Linked DNA regions of Homo sapiens: region 1 is linked to region 2. Evidence: promoter capture Hi-C in human tissues and cell types (Jung and others, 2019). All regions are on one chromosome and are shown on one strand. Each heading gives the region's core, a stretch centred on a gene start or on the middle of the fragment in contact. The rest is flanking DNA. Distances are from core to core; before and after follow the strand shown. Region 1 has its middle 16 kb from the start of LINC03124. Region 2 holds the start of MZT2A (mitotic spindle organizing protein 2A).

Region 1 (4,515 bases), core at 448-2,947, 170 kb before region 2:
GCTGAGAGCCTGCTGGGTGGCCCAGCAGAGGTCATCAGACATGTTTGAGTCATACACTTGTCACTGTTTGATTAACTGCCTTTGTTCTGCTTCTGTAAGCTTGCTAAGCCCGCCCTGTAAGTTTTGCACAGCTGCATGCTTAAAAACCAGGCCCCGTCTTTTTTCCGGGCTCAGCCTTTTGGATGCAAATCCACTGGGCAAGTGGTCACTTTAATAAAATCCTCCTGTCTCACCCATTGGTCTCTCCAGTCTCTTGAATCCCTCAACACTAAGATGGCTCCAAGACAGCATGTGAGACTTAAGTAATAACTTTTTTGTTTGTTTGTTTGTTTTTATTTTTGTATGAGACTGGGTCTGGCTTTTTCACCCAGGCTGGAGTGCAGTGGTGCAATCACAGCTCACTGCAGCCACTTCCTGGGCTCAAGCCACCCTCCCACCTTAGCTTCCCAGGTAACTTAGGACTACAGGTGTACACCACTATCGCTGGCTAATTTTTGTATTTTTTCCAGAGACGAGGTCTCACTGTCTCACTGAGCTCAGGCTGGTCTCAAATTCCTGAGCTCAAGAGATTTACCAGTCTCAGCCTTCCAAAGTGCTAGGATTACAGGCATGAGACACTGTGCCTGGCCAGTAATTTTGTTTTATTATATTAAGGTGAGGTTTATACCACCTTCTTCTGATTACAGAAGTAATACATGCTCATTATGTAACACTGAAAATGTAAGCAGTATAAAAAAGAAAATAAAAAAGAATATGAAAATCACTAGTGGTCCCATTGTCTACTGATACACTATGTGCTGCTTCCTAATCTTTACTTCCTCTCCCTCCATGTGTGTCTTTGTGTGTTTGTGTGTGTGTCTGTCTGTGTGGTCTTTTTCTTGGCACATAGGACAATAGCTGACAATTATAGCTCCCCTACCAGTGTTGAGCATTGTGTTAAGCAATTAACAAAGTGGATTTTATTTAACTCCTACAGAAAACCTATAAAGGGGAAGGGCAGTATAATTAACAGAATTTCCCAGATGAAAAGACTGGGACCTGACTTGAGGTCACATTTTATATACAGCATTGTATTTTACTTCAGACACTTAACAAAGTAAGTGTCCTGGAGAATCTTGGTCTGTTAGTCTATATAATAACATAAGCATCTTTTGTAGGATTAATAGTTTTTCCAAAGCATGCCTGGAATGCTTGCATAACATTTTAGAGTTTAAATATGTTGTTTATTGCCAGGCATGGTGGCTCATGCCTGTAATCCCAGCATTTTGGGAATCCGAGGCAGGTGGATTGCCTGAGCTCAGGAGTTTGACACCAGCCTGGCCAACACAGTGAAACCCCATCTCTACTAAAATACAAAAAAATAGCCAGGCATGGTGGGGGTGCCTGTATTCCCAGCTACTTGGGAGGCTGAGGCAGGAGAAGTGCTTGAACCTGGGAGGTGGAGGTTGCGGTGAGCCGAGATTGTGCCACTGCACCCCAGCCTGGGCAAGAGTGAGACCTTGTCTCAAAAAAAAATGATTTTATCAAACCGTTTTCATCTTTGAAACATTTTAGGTCTCCTCTTTGGCTTTTTCGCATTATTAATAATACTGTGATAAACATCCTTCAGCAGAAACCTTCATAGGCTAGCTTCCTAGAAGTAGAGGTATTAGGTCCAAGGTTGTGAATTGTTTTAAAGCTATTTATTTTTCTGGATAAAATTGCTTCCAGAGATACTGTCCCATTGCATTGCAATCAGTGGATCTCACCTTCAGTATTTTGTGCAATTAAAAAAAAGAATGCTTCTCCTTTTAAAGATTATATTTAAAATAGCTTTTAAATATGAAAAATTTGTATCTACAAATAAGAGATAGTGAAAAAAATAATAAAAGAAACACAAAAGCAGAAAGTAGATGAAAACATTAAAATTCAAATCACAGGCCTCTGTCATGGAGAGGACAGCTGCAATAGCTTTTTTGTTCTTTTATCTCTGCTTGATACATTCTTCTTTTAATTAATTTTTACCCCAACTTAAGTGCTGGCTGAGTTGTCGATTTGTTGCTGGGATGGAAAGAAGAAATTTGCACCTTGTCTTTTGCAGGTTATGAAAGCCCTGTCTGTCCTCATGGTTATGTGGGGGTCTTTTAGATTATTGTGAATATTGAGCTTTGAAAATAACCTAACAGTCAATCAATTGCTGAGCTTCTATTACCAGTAGTGGGACACAATGTACATCATGTAGAGAGGCAGACTTGTCACTGACAAAAGGGTTGACCCCTGGAAAACCAGCACAGAGCCAGCTCTTCTGTCTGAATCCACTCTTTCCAAAACATAAGTCATGGAAAGAAATAAGAGTCTCAAGAAATGAGACTCTTACCGTGATGAGAGGGGGACCTTGAAAAGCTACTTTAGTGATTAGGGAGAGAAGTCCCTTTTTGCATCCCAAATCAAGCAGAGGACTGGTAGTCCAAATATAATTTCTGAATAACCTGAGTCACCTGGGCCCTGAGGAATCCTGGCCTCTTAGTCCACATTTGCAGAAATATCAGGAGGTCAATCAGGAAGCTGGTTAGGCATCTCAACACAGGGTCAAAAAGCTCCTAGGTATGCAAATAAATGTGCACACTGGAAATTGGTTCAGCAAGTTTTCCATGGCCTAGAGAACTATGATGATGAAAATGTTCTACATTTGTGCTGGCCAGTTCAGTAGCCACTAGCCACATGTGGCTATTGAGTAACTGAAATGTGGGTAGTACAACTGACCAGCTAAATTGTACAACTGACCAGCTAAATTGTAAATTGTTTTATTTGAATTAATTTTAATTTTAATAGTCATCTGGGGCTATTGGCTACTGTATTGGGTAGCACAGAGATGAGAAATAATAGAAACCTTTTTGTTTGGTTGTTTCAAGGGCTAACACTGTCAAAAGCTCAATTCCTGTTTTATGTAAGGTTTTGGTTTATATTTTCTCAAAGAAGTGAAGTACAGAAAAAAGAAAATAAAACAAAAGGATGATCAAGCAGAACTTTGGTAAAGAAGGGTGAAGCAGAGATACTTAACTCAGGGTGGGGACAACAGCAATGACCTTGTTTGAAACGCAGCTCCTGTCTCTGTGGCTCTCTGTGCTCTGCTGGGGCATCAGTTCCTTTACTTCTTAGTTAAAGCAGTTATTTCGATGATGCAATGCTTTTTTGCTCAATAAGCATGATTTTTTACACAGCTGGTTTATCTCCAGTATGGAAGCTCTCTGCTTAATCGTCTTGATTTTTCTGGGCTTGTTCCCACTCTGCAGATGTAAGCATGACACCTGTATCTCTCTCTCCAGGCTCTGATCTAGGATGACAGTTTCTATGTTGTGCCCATCTAGAGAAATACCCAAATTGCAACTTTAGGAAGAGAAAAAGAGGGCCCTGCAAAAGGCATCTACAGGCCCCATGTGCTGTTCACCTTTCTTATTTATGGGTGAAGTGAGTCCTCATCCATTTATTGGGCAGTTGCAAGCAAAGGAATTAACTGACTATGACAACTCACCTTGAGGTACAACAATTTTGTCTGTTTTGAGTTTCCACTGTTGAAAAAAACCTAGTTATTCTAATTAAGAATAGTTATAGATAGTACCTTTTTTTTTTTTTTTTTTTTTTTTTTTTTTTTTTGAGACAGGCTCTTGCTCTGTCACCCAGATTGGAATGCAGCAGCATGATCATGGCTCACTGCAGCCTCAACCTCCCTGGGCTCAGTGATTCTCCCACCTCAGTCTCCTGAGCAACTGGGAATGCAAGCACATGCCACCATGCCTAAATATTTTTTTTGATTTTGTTTTGTTTTGTAGAGATGGGGCTTTGCCATGTCACCTAGGTTGGTATTGATCTTCTGGACTCAAGTGATCCTCTCTCCTCAGCCTCCCAAAGTACTAGGATTACAGGTGTGAAGCAGCATGCCACGCCTATAGTGATATCTTTAAGTAAGCCTCTCCTATCTTTTTTTGAGCAGTTTTTCAAAGCAACAGGCACCTTATTAAATTAGAAAGTTGATGTGCTTCCCTAATGCCTACTAATGAGGTAAAGAACTAAAGAACCTCTGTGATTTCAATGAAGTCCCTTCAGATGTTATGGGCTACTTGTTACTGACAAGTATGGTAGGAACTGTAGGTCAAGCTGTCATAGGCAAATAGATCTTGCTGAAGAGGAAGAATTATTGGCTAAGATAACACCCTAGGACACCTGGCATACTTTAGACACAGCTAAATTGAATGCTTTCTGAGGAGGAGTGTATTAATCTGTTCTCACACTGCTATAAAGATATACATGAGAGTGGGTAATTGAAAAAGAAAAGGGATTGAATTGGCTCACAGTTCCGTGGGCTGTACAGACTTATGCTTATAGGGAGGCCTCAGGAAACTTACAATCATGGAAGAAGGTGAAAAGGAAGCAAGCACATATTCACATGGCTGAAAGGAGTCAGGGGAGGTGCTACACACTTTTTAAACAAGCAGATCTCAGGAGAACTTTATCATCAGACAGCACGAGGGGGATTAG
Region 2 (4,538 bases), core at 1,842-4,341:
AAGTGGCAGAACCAAGATTCCAATACAAAGACCGCCTCACAAAACTGAGACAGGGGCAAATCCCCTCCATATTACCCGTGCACTATGCAATGAACGGAGGGGAAGAGCAAGCTCTGCCAAGGGAGCCTTTGAATAAGCCATCAGAAAACTAGGATCAAAGGCCGGGCGCCATGGCTCACACCTGTAATCCCAGCACTTTGGGAGGCCACGGTGGGCAGATCACTTGAGGCCAGGAGTTCGAGACCAGTGTAGCCAACAAGGCAAAACCCCATCTCTACTAAAAATACAAAAATTAGCTGGGTGTGGTGGCGGGCACCTGTAGTCCCAGCGACTCGGGAGGCTGAGGCATGAGAAATGCTTGAGCCCAGGAGGTGGAGGTTGCAGTGAGCAAAGATCACACCATTGCACTCCAGCCGGGGTGACAGAGGGAAACTCTGTCTCAAAAAATGGAAGAAAAAAAGGAAAGAAAACTAAGATCAGCTTTCCAGATTCCTACCTCTCAGCTCACCCAGGTCAAAAATAAAAAATGCTCAGACCTAGACTTCACAGACAGGAAGTCTGCCAAGTCCCACTGGTGGCCTAGTTACAGTTTTCCTGGCCCAGCTCTGCCCACTGCACAAGTAACGGCACTGGGGTGGCACCTGGCAGTCTGTGGAGGAAGAGAGGCTGGGTGTAAAGAGGCCATGTAGGCAGTTGTAGAGTGAGAGGAGACAGGAATCTCTGCCTCTCTGCCACTTGGCAATAGGAACATCTCCCAAGTTTTTTCAATTTTTTTTTTTTTTTTTTTTGAGACGGAGTCTCACTCTGTCGCCCAGGCTGGAGTCCAGTGGTGCTATCTTGGCTCACTGCAAGCTCCGCTTGGGTTCACGCCATTCTCCTGCCTCAGCCTCCCGAGTAGCTGGGACTACAGGCGCCGGCCACCACGCCCGGCTAATTGTCTTTTGTATTTACTTAGTAGAGTGGGTTTCACATGTTAGCCAGGATGGTCTAGATATCCTGACTTCGTGATAAGCCCGCCTCAGCCTCCCAAAGTGCTGGGATTACAGGCGTGAGCCACCGCGCCCGGCCAGCTTTCTCTTTTCCTTTTTTTTTTTTGAGACGGAGTCTCGCTCTGCGCTCTGTCGCACAGGCTGGAGTGCAGTGGCGCCATCTCAGCTCACTGCAACCTCCGCCTCCCGGGTGCAAGCAATTCTCTGCCTCAGCCTCCCAAGTGGCTGGGATTACACGCGCCCGCTACCACGCCCGGCTAATTTTTGTATTTTCTACTAGAGACGAGGTTTCACCATCTTGGCCAAGCTGGTCTTGAACTCGTGACCTCGTGATCCACCCGCCTGGGCCTCCCAAAGTGCTGGGATTACAGGCGTGAGCCACCGCGCCCGGCCTCAATTCTTAACCTAGCTATCAATTGCAGTGTTAAAGAAAAACGCCTCAGTCCTAATGCACTTGGTCAAGAAAACACTGCACTACTGCAAAATGATCAAAGCAGCATTAAACTGTGGACTGCTGGATAAGTGCGGAGCTCTAGAGATGATGAAGGGGAGAGCATCTCTGCTCAGTAAAAGCTTTCATGGGCAGCGACTGAAAGAATGAGGCCCAGAGGAATTTCTAGGAACTTTCCAAGAGAGGAAATTCAAACCCGAGAACTCCCAAGAGGTGTCTCCCACACCCCTGTTCTCTGACCCTGCCATGGCCACCCTCCCCCGTCACAGGTCTCTGCGTGCCATGCACCTAGAGTCCACTTCGTCGCGACTCTCCAACACCTATTTTCTCCAGGAGCTGCTTCGGACCCGTTTGTTTTTTTTGTTTCGTTTTGTTTTGTTTTTCTGACAGCGACAGCCCTTGGGCAACGCTAATCATTCCAAGCAAATTCTGTCATGCCAAGACCTCCCTTAACAGCACGCGCCCACTTGTTTCCAACTCTCCTGCGAATTGGGCTTCGGGAGCCTCCGAAACCAAGGCTCGGAGATGTGGAGCGCACAGGGGAAGGGTCGAGCTGGGACCCACACCCGGCTCTTCCTCCCACACCGCCTGTTGAGCCCAAGGCTCAATTTCAACACAAAGCTCTCCTTCCCTCAATTCCTTCAACGACGGGTAACCTTCAACGAACACCTACCGGACCAGAACAGAGTGTACGAGCGGCGCGGGAAGGTGGCACAAAGGCATGGCCCAGAGGAGTGGCAGGAAGACTCAGCCGGGGCCCTCCACTCCCCAGCCTGCCCGGCCTGGGCAGAGCCGCCGGGCCGCCCGAGTCCTGGGGCTCGCGGAGGAACGGAGATGGCCTCCGCAGGGGCTCGCGGAAGCCCCCAGGGCGTCGGACCGTCTCACGCGCGCGTCCCGCGCCACTCACCTGTGGGACCCATAGCGTCGCCCGCTTCAGAGGTGGAAGCCGCCATTCCGCCACCGCGCCAAAACGTCGTCATCAAGCTGCGCGCAGAGCCACGCCCCGCGGCCGGGCGGGAAAAGCGCTTCTACCTCTTTGGGCCGTTACCTCAAAAGGTACGTGCGCAAAGCGAAGAAGGCCGGCCGGCCGGCCAGGGAGGGGAAATGGCGAGGCAGGAGTGCGGGGGGAGGGAGTGGTCCTTAGCTGAATGCGCCTGCGTTGTGGCGGCCTCTGGCGCCCCAAGGTAGGGCTCACGCACTTTCTCCCTAGCAAGGAATGCGCGTGCGCGTAAGCAGGGTTGTTGATTAGTGCCCCCCACCCCCCCCGAAGAGCGACCCCTAGTGGTGCACCGGTGCGGACCAGAAAATTGCACGCTTTCTTGAAACAGGTATTGACTGAGCGCCCAATGTATGCCTGGCACTGGGCTGGGTGCTGCCACCTAAGCGAGCACGACCAATGCAAGTCTATCAGGGACGCCCTGACCGCCAAGCAGCTGGCCCCTGCAGTCCGCCATGCCACTCCCGACGCCTAGCGCGCCGCTCAGCACACCGTGAGCGCCCACTAACTGTTGGGCTCCAATGACGCCGAGGAGGCGGCCCCGTCCCCGCGCTCCCGCCGCTCCCGCCAGGGCAGCCCGGGAGGCCAGACGCTGGCGCTGCAGGGAGAGGGCGGTGGGCGCATCCGCTAGGGGGCGCGGCGGGGCGGGGCGCACCTTTCGGCGGGCCTCGCGGATGGCGGCGCAGGGCGTAGGGCCTGGGCCGGGGTCGGCGGCGCCCCCGGGGCTGGAGGCGGCCCGGCAGAAGCTGGCGCTGCGGCGCAAGAAGGTGCTGAGCACCGAGGAGATGGAGCTGTACGAGCTGGCTCAGGCGGCGGGCGGCGGTATCGACCCCGACGTGTTCAAGTGAGCGGGGCGGGTGGGGGCCGCATGCTCGCCAGACACCCCCGACCTCTGCTCTCCGGGTACGCCCGGCCCGCTGGTCGGGAGGAGCCCCCGCTGCCCCCGCCCCCGTCCTTGTCCGGTCTTCAGGGAGGTGGCCGCGCCGGGCGGAGAGGGCTCACCGGCCCCGCGTCTGTCCCCGCCAGGATCCTGGTGGACCTGCTGAAGCTGAACGTGGCCCCCCTCGCCGTCTTCCAGATGCTCAAGTCCATGTGTGCCGGGCAGAGGCTAGCGAGCGAGCCCCAGGACCCTGCGGCCGTGTCTCTGCCCACGTCGAGCGTGCCCGAGACCCGAGGTCAGAGCTGGGCCCGCTGTCCCTGCCCCAGTGGCGGGGGTGGCGGGCGGGGAGGGGGCAGGCGCGGCACAGCGGCGGCGTGGCCCTGAGTGGCCAGGCCTGTCTGTCGGTCGGTCTAGGCCCAGCACCTGCAGGGCCCATCCGTGGGCTCTGCTCCTGGGCTTCGCTGCCAGCCTTAGGAGGCACGTCCAGGTCAGGTGGACGCAGAGTGCGTGCCCCAGGGTGGTCCAGGCTGGGTAGGGCTCCTCCGCTTAGCTCCTCCCCACCTCTTCACTCAGGCCTTCATCCTACAAAGTCGGGAATCAAGACGGTTTGGGGCTGGGCGCCGTGGCTCACGCCTATAATCTTTGGGACCCCACGGCGGGAGGATCCTTTGAGGCCATGAGTTTGAGACCAGTCTGGGTGACAGGGTGAGATCCTGTCTCTAAATGTTTTTCAAAAGACAGTCTCGATCTCTGTCCTGTGGTATACAGCATCCAGGGAAGTGCCCAGGGAGCAGGGCAGGCAGACGTCTTCCTGCCTTTACCCCACCTGGGCCCAGTTCCTGCCTCTGATGATTGCAGGAAGAGAGTTAGACGCGGAACTCCCAGGGTGCAGAGGCCTGCGGGGTCTGAAGGGCCTCCTCCCTCTCCAGTGTGGTGACTGGGCTGAGGAGATGCTGGGACTGAGAGTGTCATGGTGGAGCCTCCGTCCCTGCTCATCCTCTCCGCATGTTGCTTCTGCTCCCGATGGCTCTCTCTGAAATGCAGCACAACCTCCCAGGCCAATGGAAGGAGGCCCAGAGCTGGCTCCCTGCCTGGAAGCAGGAGGAGACCCTCACAGGCATCATGAGAAGGCGTGGAAAGCAGGCTGCCTTCATGGGGGAAGTGCCAGGGCCTGGGCACCCACGCCCGCTGACCCAAGAGGGCCCGGGCACCTGCGTGCTG

The links. Contacts are between HindIII fragments. The study calls those that stand out against the background at their distance.
Region 1: a contact is called between a fragment that was not itself captured here and the fragment with the promoter of MZT2A in region 2, in 2 of the 25 tissues and cell types used here (lymphoblastoid cells and mesenchymal stem cells).

The regions. Positions count from the first base shown.
Region 1 is chr2:131,664,568-131,669,082 of GRCh38, reverse strand. No RefSeq gene overlaps it. Among named protein-coding and RNA genes, the nearest start is that of LINC03124, 16 kb to the left of the region's middle. RefSeq lists an enhancer at 1-87 and a cis regulatory region at 1-187. The HindIII fragment of the contact is 4,481 bases long and covers 1-3,937 here.
Region 2 is chr2:131,490,950-131,495,487 of GRCh38, reverse strand. It overlaps MZT2A (mitotic spindle organizing protein 2A), which reads left to right and starts at 3,091. Exons shown (of 3, transcript NM_001085365.2): 1 at 3,091-3,281; 2 at 3,464-3,612. The coding sequence starts at 3,112. It overlaps MIR4784 (microRNA 4784), which reads left to right and starts at 4,252; the gene lies at 4,252-4,328. It also overlaps the pseudogene SMPD4BP. RefSeq lists silencers at 2,151-2,340, 2,861-3,370 and enhancers at 2,173-2,966, 2,967-3,760. The HindIII fragment of the contact is 8,382 bases long and covers 1-4,538 here.